Regions from separate parts of the Homo sapiens genome. Here regions 1, 2, 4 and 5 are each linked to region 3. Evidence: promoter capture Hi-C in human tissues and cell types (Jung and others, 2019). All regions are on one chromosome and are shown on one strand. Each heading gives the region's core, a stretch centred on a gene start or on the middle of the fragment in contact. The rest is flanking DNA. Distances are from core to core; before and after follow the strand shown. Region 1 overlaps LATS2 (large tumor suppressor kinase 2). Region 2 overlaps LINC00539 (long intergenic non-protein coding RNA 539). Region 3 holds the start of SKA3 (spindle and kinetochore associated complex subunit 3). Region 4 overlaps LATS2 (large tumor suppressor kinase 2). Region 5 overlaps LINC00539 (long intergenic non-protein coding RNA 539).

Region 1 (2,700 bases), core at 174-2,673, 150 kb before region 3:
TATGAAGCAAACACACACAAGGCCAATTTAGATATGAGAGTGGGGATTTATGTGTTTTTATAATACTGGAGTGGGTATAAACAGAGCTATCCACCCTGCGAGAGAATAAAAGATCCTCATTATGTTCATAAAGGGATTTTGCAGATTATTTCCTGCTTTAAAGGAAATAATCATGTTTCCTAGAACACATCTATAATCTTCATCATATACAAATAAGCAATAGACTCCCCTTCTTCACTCTCCAGCTGGACGCTTGGGCAAGGGTGTTTTGATTTTCTCTGATTAGCCAGGAAAGGGGGTGTGGGGGAAGCCACCCTCACCCTCTAGTCCAGCCCAGCAATCCCACTGCATGCACCTGCAGAGCCCCAGGGGGGCAGTGTCGCTCGAGCCGGGGACTCCTTTCCAAAGATCGCTCCCGGCATCCATAGCGCTGCATCGAGGGCTCCGGGCTCCGAGGGCTCCGAAGGCCGGGGAGTGGGACCAGCTCCCACACAGGAGACGCAGCTCAGGGCTTCTACATTTCTAGGAATGCTAAAAACCCAATTTTCTTAATTCCTTTTTTTTTTTCTTTTTAGAGATAGGGTCTCACTACGTCCCATCCTCCTGCCTCAGTCTCCTGACACACTGGGACCACAGGCGCTCGCCCCCTCTCCAGGCCCAATTTTCAGTGTGAAAGCTCTTGGTTCTTAAAAGTTGGAAAGACATTTTTAAAAAACTTGTAAGACACCGTGTGGGTAGAATAGAACCCAACTGCAAGTACACGGACCCCTGCACTTCCCGTCCTTGGCCTCTGTTCTCGAGGCGGGGCCAGGACTCTCCACGCTGCCGGAGAGCCCAGACAGTGTCTGAGATTGATGGTCAATAACACAGCAAGGTCTTAGGATTTCAAAAGGATGGGAGGGAGGTCCACCAAATGACACATTTTCTATGACTGGCTTTAAAAAAAAAAAAAAAAAAAAAAAAAAAAAAAAAAAAACAAACCTCGGCCGGGCGCAGTGGCTGACGCCTGTAATTCCAGCACTTTGGGAGGCTGAGCCGCGTGGATCACCTGAGGTCGGGAATTCAAGACCAGCCTGACCAACCTGGAGAAACCCCGTCTCTACTAAAAATACAAAATTAGCTGGGCATGGTGGCGCATGCCTATAATTTCAGCTATTCAGGAGGCTGAGGCAGGAGAATCGCTTGAACCCAGGAGGCAGAGGTAGCAGGGAGACGAGATCGCACCATTGCACTCCAGCCTGGGCAACAAGAGTGAAACTCCCTCTCAAGAAAAAACAAAACAAAACACAACTCAGGGGGCTTTGGAAAACAAGCAGGCATCCTCGGGAAGGGCCCCCCAGGGAGTTTACAGACCTTCCCCAGAAAGGTTAAAGTGTCTCGCTGTGCAAAAAAAAAAAAAAAAAAAAAAGAAAAAGAAAAAACAGCTTGAAAAATAACAGGAATGGGCCGGGCATAGTGGCTCACACTTGTAATCCAGACACTTTGGGAGGCTGAGGGGGAGGGATCACTTGAGGTCAGGAGTTCAAGACCAGCCTGGCCAACATGGTGAAACCCATCTCTACTAAAAATAAAAAAAAATTAGCTGGGTGTGGTAGCACATGCCTGGTAATCCCAACTACTGAGGAGACTGAGGCAGGAGAATTGTTTGAACCTGGGAGGCGGAGGTTGCAGTGAGCCGAGATCGCGCCACTGTACCCCAGCCTGGGCGACAGAGTGAGACTCTGAATGATAATAATAATAAATGATAATAAATAATATAAAAGTTAACCCTTTTTAGGTTGGCTGGACTTTCAGTGGGGTTCAGTGGCGGTTCTCGCCAGGGCATATCTAAAAGTTGAGTATGGCCCTGCGGGAGCTCTTCCTGCATAGCGCCTCACGGATGACATCTCACTTTGACGGTCATCACTGACCAGCACCGTGCTGTCCCACAGAAATGTAACTCGAGCCACATGTGGAATTTTCCATTGTCTTATACCCACATTAAAAAAAAAAAAAAAAGTACTGATGTTAAAAGATGTATATTTCAACCCAATACATCCAAATATTAACATTTCAACAAGTAAGCAATGTTAGAAATACTGACATTTTATATTCTCTTTTTTGCACTATGTCTTCCAAATCGGGTGTGTATCCTATACTCACTGCACACCTCAATTGAGATGAGCCCCATCTCAAGGCCTCCAAAGCCACGCATGGCCTGGGGCTGTCCCCACAGGCTCAGCCAGGCCCAGAGACACGCACATTTATGTACAGCCCTGCAGACCAGGCTTCCCCCATAACTTTTTGCCTGGTTTTGTTTTTTGATTCATTGATTTTTATATATTTAACAGGTTACTATCAATTATAATCAGTATTCCTTTATGGCTGATCTACTACTTGCTACTCCCATGAAGTCTGTAAGACACCTTTAATGAGGTATAATTTATGGTCACGGGGCCAGGTGCGGTGGCTCACCTGAGGTCAGGAGCTCGAGACCAGCTTGGCCAACATGGCGAAACCCCGTCTCTACTAAAAAAAAAAAAAAAAATACAAAAATTAGACGGGTATGGTGGCAAGCACCTATAATCCCAGCTACTAGGGAGGCTGAGGCAGGAGAATCGCTTGAACCCGGGAGGCAGAGGTTGCAATGAGCCAAGATCATGCCACTGCACTCCAGCCTGGGCGACAAGAGTGAGACTCCGTCTCCAAAAAAAAAAAAAA
Region 2 (2,700 bases), core at 64-2,563, 160 kb after region 3:
TGTGAAGGAACTGGCTGAGTACGTGGACCAGTACTCAATACCATGTACAGGTGAGAGCAGTGGCCAGTGACTTTGACAGCGTGCCCATTCCCAGCACCTTCCAAAAGTATCCATCCATCAGTGTTCCAACTCCTGGCCAGGCTCCTTGCCCCTGTGGACCCATTTCCATATGAGAGCTCTAGATCTTTTTCGACAAGAAAATCCGTGGCCCCACCCCACCCCAAAGACAGTGCTATGACTTTTAGAAGAAAATATTCTATTTGTGAGACAGAGTCGAGGCTCTGAAGCCAGAACAGATCTGACCCCTGGCTTTGCCTGCCCCTCACTGCCTGTCCTCTAACCCTTGGTTTTCTCATCTGTGTTGTGGGGATGAACATGAGGTCAACCTCACGGTTTGTGTGAAGGACTGAGTGAAATCACACCTACGAAGCAGTGGACCTGAGCTACCCCAATAAACGGAACCAAATGTTTGCCTTGTCAAACCTGCGGGCAGGTAGGGCATGTTCTATCATCAAAGGGATAAGATGTGCAAATGGAAGCCCAAGGAGTGGCCTGTCTGGAGGCAGAGGGAGCTCCGGCCATACCAAGAAAGGAAGGAGGACGCCTCCAGTCCCACCTCCTCAGCGTCCCCGTTTCTATTCTGTCAGCCTCGGTTCTTTGGTAGGTTTGGAAGATGCAGAGAGGGAAGAGTTATCTTTATGGCTCACATAGACCTGGCTGCATGCACAAATCCCAAAATAAAATCATTCCTCAGAGTTTGCCCTAACTGTCATTTTCTAGGTGAAGAAGTTAGGCCCAGAGAGGTTAAGTGACATGCCTGGGGTCACACAGGTGCGTAACAGCCTGTTCCCTCTATGCCCACCTCTGTGCCCCGAGGTGCTGTCCCTTTTTTGATTCAGAGACGTTTGCTCTAGGTTGTTCTTGGTTCACTCTTTTGCAGAATCCTGGAATCAGGGGAGCTCTGGGACCTTGTAGTCCAAGGCCCCTCTGGGGGCAAGAAGCCCCTCTGGAGCCCCACCTGACCCAAGCTTCTCCTGCCTTCTCCTGAATCGATGGCTTTGCCTGGCCAAGCCTTGTCCCTATTTTCCACAGCTCTGGCTATCCAGTGACTGTCCTTTTCCTCAAGCCTAAAAGGGTCTCTCCTTCAATTCCACCCAGTAGCACTGAGGCTTGGAAGAGGCTCCAGAGAGGGCTATGGTCAGAGCAGGTGGGACCAGGGTTTAGCTCATCCTGGATGCATGTAGCCCAGCAAGGGAATATCCAAACCTTGGGGACTGCGTGTCCAAGAAGTTCCTACTGCAGCATAGCAAAGCCAACCTTCCCAAGTGTCCCCAGTGGCCCAGAATCACAGCCAACCAACCCCCCTCCCCTGACAACTGTGTCAACTGTGCTGACTTCACCCCCAAACTCTAGTTCTGGAGTTTCCAAGGCAGGACAGAGTGTGCTAGCCTCCGGCTGGAGTCCATGTTTCAGATATCCAACTGCATCTCTATTAAATCCAGCCTGGAGTACTCATCCTATGTCCCAGCCCTAGAGGGGAGGACGGCAGCAAATTCCGAGAGGATTTTCCTCACCAGAGCTTACAGGAGAACAGACATTCAAGGCTGCTCAAGAAGCAGGTGGCTGCTGTTGTTGTTTTTTGTTTTTTTGTTTTGTTTTGAGACAGAGCCTTGTTCTGTTGTCCAGGCTGGAGTGCAGTGGCGCCATCTCAGCTCACTGCAACCTCTGCCTCCTGGGTTCAAGCGATTCTCCTTCCTCAGCCTCCTGAGTAGCTGGGATCACAGGCGCCCGCCAACACCCCTGGCTAATTTTGGTATTTTAGTAGAGACGGGGTTTCACCGTGTTGGCCAGGCTGGTCTCGAACTCCTGACCTCAAGTGGTCTGTCTGTCTCGGCCTCCCAAAGTGCTGGGATTACAGGCATGAGCCACCGCACCTGGCCCGCCTGCTGTTGTTTGACAATGTTGGGTATTCTTAGGGATCCAACTCTAGTTTTTAGGAAATGAACACAAATATTCATTTTTCACAACAGCCAACAATTATTTCCTTTATAAGTTCACATTCACAACCATTTTCCCACTCTAAAATTGGCACAAATTTGAAAAGCATGATATATAAAACCGGTGAGGATATTGTGAGGTAAACACTCTCATTCACTGATGACGTGAATTTAAACGAGAACAAGCTTTTTAAACAGCAATGGCAAAATGCATTCAGAGTTTAAAGCATCTATTCCATTTGGCTCAATTCTATACATGCACGGAAACAAAGCAAAAAACAAGGAAAATGCAACCCCCGCCCCCTCCCAAATCAAAGAACAAACAGGAGCTTTTTCAGGCCTCAAGTGAAGCAAGGCACGAGTCTCTCTGAGGAATCCCCGCCCATAAGACCTGGGAAGGTCACAGCCTTCACGCTGGCTCAAGGGGTTCTCCCCAGCAGGAACCCAGGCTGCTCCTCCCGGGACTGTGGCTGACAGGTAGGGAGCGCTCATAAGTCATAGCGGATATTATCACTACAGGGGTCCCTAACATCTCAGTGAACCCCCACTGTCAGGGAAACTGAGAAACTGTGAATGCAGCCCCAAAGCCTGTGAGAGACCACGTGTGGGCTCAGAGCCTCCCCGTCACCTCAGAAGGCCAGGGAGCCCAGAGGCCAAGCAGGGACTTCGGCAGGACCCGTCCAGTGGACCCCAAGTCGCCCTG
Region 3 (2,700 bases), core at 134-2,633:
GGTTTCACCACGTTGGCCAGGCTGGTCTTGAACTCCTGACCTCGGGCGATCCACCCACCTCGGCCTCCCAAAATGCTGGGATTACAGGCGTGTGCCACCGTGCACGGCCAAATCTTTTTTTCTTTTTGAGACGGACTCTTGCTCTGTCGCCGAGGCTGGAGTGCAGTGGCGGATCTCGGCTCACTGCAAGTTCCGCCTCCCGGGTTCACGCCATTCTCCTACCTCAGCCTCCCGAGTAGCTGGGACTACCGGCGCCCGCCACCACGCCCGGCTAATTTTTTGTATTTTTAGTAGAGACGGGGTTTCACCGTGTTAGCCAGAATGGTCTCGATCTCCTGACCTTGTGATCCGCCCGCCTCAGCCTCCCAAAGTGCTAGGATTACAGGCGTGAGCCACCGCGCCGGGCAGAAATAGACATTTTCAAGTGACTGGAGATCATTCATTATATAATTAAAGTAAAAGTAGTCTGCAGGGTGTAATATTTTAAAGCACATTACAATTATGACATTTATGAAATAATTCCAAAATCTGAACTACTTTTTCAACAATTTAAAAAATCTCTAATAAAAAGGGGAATGGTGAATTTTGCTTTATTTATATACACATATTTTTTTAAACCCCAGCACTGTTGAGTACTAGTGTTTGTGTTGGCAACATGGTTTAGCGGGAAAAACACAGAGGTTTACTGCAACTGTGGACCACGTGAGTGAGAAAAAAGTCACTATATGTGTAAAGTATTGTGTAAAGAACGTTAAATAGCTTGATTCTAAGAGAAACTGTTTAGGTTTACATGGTATTTTACTGACAAGCACACATATTGTATGTGACGAAAGCATATCACGTATAAATTAGTATATGTATTATGAGCTCAATCTGTTAATTTAGGTTCTTATTCTTAAGTGCTGCTGTCTCTGTTTATAACGTAATAGTGCTACTTTCATTATCTCAAGAGAGCCGTGGGGTTGTACATGGGTCTAAAACGGACACGCGACAAGGGTTCCTAGGAATAAACCATAAACAGGCCCGGGAGCTACGCTAACGCCAAACGCCGAGCAGTGAGACGCGCAGCACCCGCCCTGCGCCTCGGTGGCAGCCGTCCACGCCGTCAGTGCCTGGCGGTTCCCGTGGGACATACCGTCCACTCGCCACGCCCCTCCGCCCGCGGCGCACCCCACGCACCGTGCCCTGGCCGCCCGCCTCACGCACCGCTTTCCTCTCCGTCCAGCGCTCGCTGCAGCCGGGCCGTCTCGCAGTCCAGCGTGCTGGCCAGAGACCGCAGCTTCCCGCAGAAGCTCCGGATAGGGTCCATGCTGAGCACAGCGGGGAAGGACTCCAGGCGTACGCAGACCCCACCGCTCAGCTCACAGCCTCCCGCCACTAGTTTGAATCTCGGCGCCGGACGCGTCCTCGGCTCTGCGCAGGCGCAGTCCTCTCTCGCGAGAGCCGAAGTCTCTCGCCGAGGCCCCAGGAGACCCCGCGAGACGGGTGCGCTTACGCCACGGCGTCTGCTGGCGGCCGCGGAGACGCAGAGTCTTGAGCAGCGCGGCAGGTGAGTAGCTGTGCGAATTCGGTTCTCTAGGGAGCTCCTTCTTCGCCTGCTGGCCTTACCTGGGCTCCCCGCTTCTCTGGAGGGGAGGCGGTGCGGGAACTCCCGTAGGCGTGAGCTGGAGCGCGCGCCCGCTGCTCTCTCCAGGTCCGGCCGCGCCAGTTCGCCTCCGCAAAGCCCGTCCCTCTCTTCCGCAGGCACCATGTTCCTGACTGCGCTCCTCTGGCGCGGCCGCATTCCCGGCCGTCAGTGGATCGGGAAGCACCGGCGGCCGCGGTTCGTGTCGTTGCGCGCCAAGCAGAACATGATCCGCCGCCTGGAGATCGAGGCGGAGAACCATTACTGGCTGAGCATGCCCTACATGACCCGGGAGCAGGAGCGCGGCCACGCCGCGGTGCGCAGGAGGGAGGCCTTCGAGGCCATAAAGGCGGCCGCCACTTCCAAGTTCCCCCCGCATAGATTCATTGCGGACCAGCTCGACCATCTCAATGTCACCAAGAAATGGTCCTAATCCTGAGTCGTCACCCTTGGATTTTATGGATCACGGAGCTGACCATCTTTACCTGGTCCTGGAACTGAAAAACTGTAGCTTGTGTGAAAATGAGCCTTTGGACCAGTCTTTATTAAAACAAACAAACATGAGTAGTCTGCATATCGAATATCTAGAGCTCTAAACCCCCAATACTTAAAAGTCTAATTGCTGTCCTGTGGTTTCATTAGTCTGATAGGAAGATAGGGATTTCCTCAGTCACAGATGATATTTTGAAGGAAAGCTGCAATAAAGCCACAATGATTTGAGGTCTTTGCTTAAGTATGAGATACTTGATGGGGGCTTTATCATGCAACATTAGTTTGCTTACCTTAAGAATTGCCCAAAAATGAAAGAAAATATGAGCTTTTCAGTTAAACATACTCCTAAAAACATTTTCCGGGATTTTACTACTAAAATTGGACATTTAAGCGAAGTAAAAGAGGCCGGGTGCGGTGGCTCACGCCTGTAATCCCAACACTTTAGGAGTCCAAGGCGGGCGGATCACTTGAGGTCAGGAGTTCAAGACCAGCTTGGCCAAGGTGATAAAACCCGTCTCTACTAATACAAAAAAAATTAGCTGGGTATGTTGGTGCAGGCTTGCAATCCCAGCTACTTGGGACGC
Region 4 (2,700 bases), core at 117-2,616, 180 kb before region 3:
GATGCTCCTGCTGCCAGTCTGCTTGAGAGCTCGGCCAGCCATCTCCTGGGAGGGAAGTAAAGGAGAGGTAAGTGCATGTCATCCTAAAACAAAGCCACCAAAGACTCCCATCCCCACTCCGTGCTGGACTGTGCTGGGACACTTCGCCTCTGTACTGCTGAGAACCTGCGATATGCTGCAGGAGACCCTCAGAATGAGTGCAGGTGGCTGTGTGCCCTGCAGGTACCTGATGGCAAAAGCCTAGCACAAGCCACACCATAGACTATTTAGCCTTATGTCAAGGACATATGGGAATTTTGATGATGGGCCTGAAAGAGACTTAAATTCTGCTTCTCCTCAGAAAACTTTTGTGGTTGGACTGGTGAGTTCAGGATGAACCTAAAACTAGAAACATTTAAGGGGAAGAACTGTGGGAGTCAGGGAACCTGGCTTTAACCTCAGCTCACCTCCAGGCTAACTCTGGGACTAGGAAACCTGTCCCCAGGGAGAGGGTGCAGCTGCCGAAGAGTCATATATTACACGCCTACTGTTTACAATGCCCCATGCTGGCTATAGCAGCGGAGGACTGGCCCTTAGAGATCTGACTCGTAGAAGAAAGAAAGGAGACAAAACAGGGGCCCATGGAGCCACACCGGTCCAGGACAGGTAGCTCAAACTGCTTGTGGGAAGAACACAGGGACTGGTGGCCACCACGGGAGAGGGCAGGTAAAATGGATGAGGGCCACAGGAGAAAGCCTCCTTCCACCCGAAAGATGAGGTGGTGGCATGGCTAGCTGTTCCAGACTTTGGGCAGGTGGAGAGCCCTGGGAGAGAAAAGGCATTCCTGGCAGATGGGACAGCCAGAGCAGAAGCCTGGGGAAAGATGGGCCCATGGCAGCAGCACGCAAGGGTAGGTGGAGATGGGGGGATGGACCCACAGATGGGGGCCAGGCTCTCCAGGGTTTTGCTCCTGTCTGCAGGCATTCGAGGAAGCTTTCAAACTGGGACATACGGCATCAGCAGGTCAGGCTGGGGGCGGCTGTGGGTGCAGAGCTGGAGGCACTCAGATGGGGGAGACAGAATAGGCAGGAGGGTACCGAAGAGATGCAGCCCAGTGGCGCGGGGCGGTGAGGCTCTGATGAAGGCGCCCCCTTCACCTTTCAGGACAGCTCCGCAGAGCTGTAGGCAAACAGGGAGGGTGAGCAGAGAGAAAAGAACACCGTTGAGGCTGGCTGTGGGACAAGGGCAAAAACAGGCAAAGGCCACAAAAAGGGCTTCAGCAGAAGAAGAAAGGCTGAGCACTCTGAAGGTCAACGAGGAGGGCAACCAGGCAGGAGGAAACTGAAAATGTAGAACGGGGAGCTCCGGAAAGGAGTCCACAGTTACCCAGACAGCAGAGAAGAAAGGGGTGGAGATGGCTGGGCGTGGTGGCTCACGCCTGTAATCCCAGCACTTTGGGAGGCCGAGGCAGGTGGATCAAGAGGTCAAGAGATCGAGACCATCCTGGCCAACATGGTGAAATCCCGTCTCTGCTAAAAATACAAAAATTAGCTGGGTATGGTGGTGTGTGCCTGTAGTTCCAGCTACTCAGGAGGCTGAGGCAGGTGAATTGCTTGAAACCTGGGAGGTGGAGGCTGCAGTGAGCCGAGATCACGCCACTGCACTCCAGCCTGGCGACAAAGTGTGACTCCATCTCCAAAAAAAAAAAAAAAAAAAAAAAAAATGGGGGGGTGGAGATACAGAAAGACCCCGGACAGTGGGGGAGGCCGTGCAGGGCTGCTCTGCAGCAGGAAGCCTGGCCATGGTCACAGAGCCACTCCGCAGAGAGAGATGCAGCACTGAGTGTCCCCCACCTCTGGATAGGGCATTGTGGTGCCCATGATCTGAATCGCACTCAGCTGTGTGTCTGTGGTTCCCTTAGGACAAGAAGAACCTGGCAGGGCCTGAATCCATGTTACTCATGGTTGCTTCTGCCCCCTTAACACAGTGCCTAGAACAAATTAAGCACTTATTGTCCATATATGATGGTCTAATACTGAATCAAGCTTTCCAGTCCTGGCCATATGCCAGCAGAATGGCAGCACAAAAAACACAGGCTGTAAACTGTGTTCTTAGCAATGCAGGCGTGGGCATGGCAAGATGGCAGGGACAGGCAAGGGGCTGCAGAGGAGCACGAGGTGGAAGGCCTGGGGAGGTGCCGCCACATGGGCAGGCCATGTTGCCTGCCCATGTGGGACATGGGACATGAAGTGACAGATTGGAAAATGGTAATAAGAACAGACCTGTTTGTTAAAGTGGCGCCTGGACTACCAGAAAGGGCAAGTGTTTACAACCTGGAAGAGTTGCAGAGAGAAGGCAGCGGTGGTTCAGAAGGGAAGTGCTTCCTGACCCCACCTGGGACAGGAGATAAGACTCCCACCACCGCCTACTTCGGGAGCTATGCGATGAGATCACGTCTACGAAGACTCAACAGCTTGGAGGAAGACACGATATAAGACCACATCTTTGTGGGATCACCCTGGAGCTTTTGGCGCCCATTAAAAAAATGTGCCAATTGGGGCTGACTCTAACCACAAGCCTTTCCATCAGCACTAACCGTTCAATTGCTTCATCTGAAACGTGACCAACGCTCTGTCTCCTGCAGGGTGAATCACCAGCCTGTGCTCATTAACCCAGTACCTGTTGACTGCCAAGGAAGGGACAGCTCCAGGACAGACTAGG
Region 5 (2,700 bases), core at 170-2,669, 130 kb after region 3:
AAAAGAACCTTTCTCCTTTTTGAATTTTTGAGATGTTACCTACCAGTAATGTTGGTACTATTATAAGGCAATCGTCTTATAAACTTTTTCACTAAATAGTCATTTTGTTTTCTTTGTTTTCAACACAGTTTTTACGTAACAGAACTGTTTTCCTCATCACTATTAGAAATCAGTTGTTAATGTGCATGCTAGTGTTTTGAATTTTAATATTGATTATAAATTCACATGTAGATTAGTAATTTGTAAAAAAAAAAATGTAAATTTATGTAACTCATTTTTCAGATACTTTGGTACTAATGTTATTTTATCGTTACCAATTCTTACAACAAATATACCAAACTATGGATTTAAATGTTTTGGCATTAAAAACTATTTGATAATAAAATCAGGAAATTTTACCTTGTGGTGATTTTATTTCATGTTATAGTCACACATCTTCTTGGCAAATAAAATATGTAGTGTTTTGTAGTTTCTCTGCTTTTTGTTACAATTGACATGAAAACGAAAATTTAGTTTTACATCATTTTATCTTTTTAAAAAAATTGTTGCTCATTTTAATTTCTAATGACTTAAGTAGCAGCAGCAGTAGTAGTTGTACACAGTATTACATGGAGACTGAACTCATATTTTATTAAAAGGACTAAAGAGACTGTGCCTTTGTTTTCTGCACAAAGACTAGAATGTAGTTAAAGACTAAAGTGTAGTTAAATGAGTTTTGAAACTATACTATGTGTCAGTTAAAGAAAACAAGCCTCTAAGAGTTGTTTTTTGGAGCTAGGTTAACCTGTGAGAACCATACTGCAAAGAATTTTAGCCAGAAAGTTGTAGAATATTTGAAACCAGTGTCTGCTCTTTTGATTTAATAAAGGGTTAGGAAGAATTTGCTTGGTGTTTATATTTGAAGGAGAAAAACTTTTCTGAAACAAAGTTAATAAAATTATTTTTTTTGGAAAGAAACAAACTTGGTTTCAAGGAATAACAGAATTAAATAAATGTTCAGAAAGCAGCTGCTTTGCTTTACTCGCTTAGGAAAAAGTCAGTAATGGAAATGCATAGGCCAAGCCAATGGCACATCTTAAAACCCAGTTTTCATTTTCACCCCCAGATCCTGGAAGAAAGCTTCCCATCAAATTCCCTTTTGGTTTCGTCTTTCCCCTTTATTAGGCTGATTTTGTGAAAATCGCTCACCCTGAGCCAGCATTCAGGGAAGTCGCAGAAGAAGCTTGTAGAAGTATTGGCACCATGGTAGAGAAGTATGTGCTGTTCCCCTCCCCACCTCCGTGCCAAGTCCTGGGTGATCCGGTTTCATGGACTTGTGCCGTAGGCAGTTTTGTCCATAGTGCTTGTCCCCCGCCCAGCAGGGTGGGAGGTGTGTGTGACCAGGGGTGGCCGGAGGGAGGTCTCAGGACAGGCCATTGGCTCACCTTGCAGGCAGGCACTGGGCCTCAGGGCTGGTTGTCTGTTCTCTCAGTCATTTCCTTCTCTGTAAATGGGGTCATAAAGTTAACCCTGCCTCAGGGTCCTTGTGAGTGTTAAATGAGATCAATGTAAAGGTGTCACTTGATAATCTGAGATGACAGACACCCAGGATTCTTGTCATCACCATTATCACTTACCTTAAATAAGGGCTTTTTAGTGTCCTAGTGGCAAGTTGGACTTACTAGATTATCGCTTGATTAAATTGCTGTTGCATCAATGGCTGTGGGCCACGGGGCGAGAAGCCAAAACGCTCTATAAACAGTGTCCTTGTGGTCCCTGTTGAGTTGGAATTAGGGGAGTCTAGGGAGGCTGTGAAAGTCTGTGGGAGAGCTGGAGCAGGCTCTGGCTGAGGCTGTGATGGAGTGAATTATTTTAAAGTGATTTTGGGGTAAATGTGAGTGTTTTTAAGCCACTTATAAGAGCTCCATAGTGCTTGTTAAAATAACTGAATGGTGGACAGCGCTGTATTCCAACACACTTAGCTGCATGGCACCATGCCAGGCAGTGTATAGAGCTAGGGAGAGCCCTGGGCTCGCCAGCGTGGATTTACAACAGGGAAAAGGGGGTAACACGATAAGACAATTTCATATGCCAGAAATTGTTGGAGGAGGAGAGTGATGGCTTCTCTGGTTAGACGAGGCTTCCTTGGAAGACCCAACGCTTCAGGATGTGCAGCTGCTGCTTTTCCCCAGGTCGCCAACATTTGTTCACTTTGGCACAATCGTGTGTGACTTTCCCCATAGCCGCTGAAAACCAACTTGCGTAATGGGACAGAACGGGGCCCTGCAGAGTGCAGACACTGGGCATGCTGACAGGGCTGAAAGTGGGGACTCCCTGGGAGAAAGCTTTGCCTCTCGGGGAAAGGCCCCTGGGAAGGAGTCAGCAGTGGGCTGCCTGCTCGAGGCTCTCTGCATGCTGTGTCCTGCCGAATTAGACGTGGGCTGGTCTCATGGACAAGCACTCTTCATTTTGTGGGAGGACAAATACAGACTGAAGTATGGGCTTTATCTCAGGGTCTTCCAACATAAAACATACTACTGGGAGATTTCCTTAAACCTCTGCAGTGGGGGCAGTGCGGGCAGCCTCTGAGCTACTGTTCCTTTGCCATGGAGTGGCTCCGTGGGTGAGCAGGTTGGGAGGAGGTAGGCCTCCACACTCACTCTCTCCCTGACTTCTGGGATCCATGTGTGGGAGTCTGGCCCTTCTTGGTGAGTGTTTTTT

What was found. Contacts are between HindIII fragments. The study calls those that stand out against the background at their distance.
Region 1: a fragment that was not itself captured here is called in contact with the fragment with the promoter of SKA3 in region 3 in 1 of the 25 tissues and cell types used here (aorta).
Region 2: a contact is called between a fragment that was not itself captured here and the fragment with the promoter of SKA3 in region 3, in 1 of the 25 tissues and cell types used here (spleen).
Region 4: a contact is called between a fragment that was not itself captured here and the fragment with the promoter of SKA3 in region 3, in 1 of the 25 tissues and cell types used here (H1 embryonic stem cells).
Region 5: a contact is called between a fragment that was not itself captured here and the fragment with the promoter of SKA3 in region 3, in 2 of the 25 tissues and cell types used here (heart left ventricle and thymus).

What each region holds. Positions count from the first base shown.
Region 1 is chr13:21,022,708-21,025,407 of GRCh38, forward strand. The region is part of intron 2 of LATS2 (large tumor suppressor kinase 2); the gene reads right to left. Among named protein-coding and RNA genes, the nearest start is that of LATS2, 38 kb to the right of the region's middle. The HindIII fragment of the contact is 5,572 bases long and covers 1-2,700 here.
Region 2 is chr13:21,339,502-21,342,201 of GRCh38, forward strand. All of the region lies in intron 1 of LINC00539 (long intergenic non-protein coding RNA 539), which reads right to left. It also overlaps the pseudogene MIPEPP3. Among named protein-coding and RNA genes, the nearest start is that of LINC00539, 4.0 kb to the right of the region's middle. The HindIII fragment of the contact is 3,774 bases long and covers 1-2,700 here.
Region 3 is chr13:21,175,169-21,177,868 of GRCh38, forward strand. It overlaps SKA3 (spindle and kinetochore associated complex subunit 3), which reads right to left and starts at 1,384. Exons shown (of 9, transcript NM_145061.6): 1 at 1,207-1,384. The coding sequence starts at 1,309. It overlaps MRPL57 (mitochondrial ribosomal protein L57), which reads left to right and starts at 1,490. Exons shown (of 2, transcript NM_024026.5): 1 at 1,490-1,549; 2 at 1,744-2,700. The coding sequence starts at 1,749. The coding sequence ends at 2,057. RefSeq lists enhancers at 1-179, 902-1,624, 1,640-1,959. The HindIII fragment of the contact is 23,400 bases long and covers 1-2,700 here.
Region 4 is chr13:20,991,360-20,994,059 of GRCh38, forward strand. It overlaps LATS2 (large tumor suppressor kinase 2), which reads right to left. Exons shown (of 8, transcript NM_014572.3): 3 at 1-45. Among named protein-coding and RNA genes, the nearest start is that of LINC00367, 43 kb to the left of the region's middle. The HindIII fragment of the contact is 3,925 bases long and covers 1-2,700 here.
Region 5 is chr13:21,305,121-21,307,820 of GRCh38, forward strand. All of the region lies in intron 2 of LINC00539 (long intergenic non-protein coding RNA 539), which reads right to left. It also overlaps the pseudogene MIPEPP3. Among named protein-coding and RNA genes, the nearest start is that of LINC00539, 38 kb to the right of the region's middle. The HindIII fragment of the contact is 3,239 bases long and covers 1-2,700 here.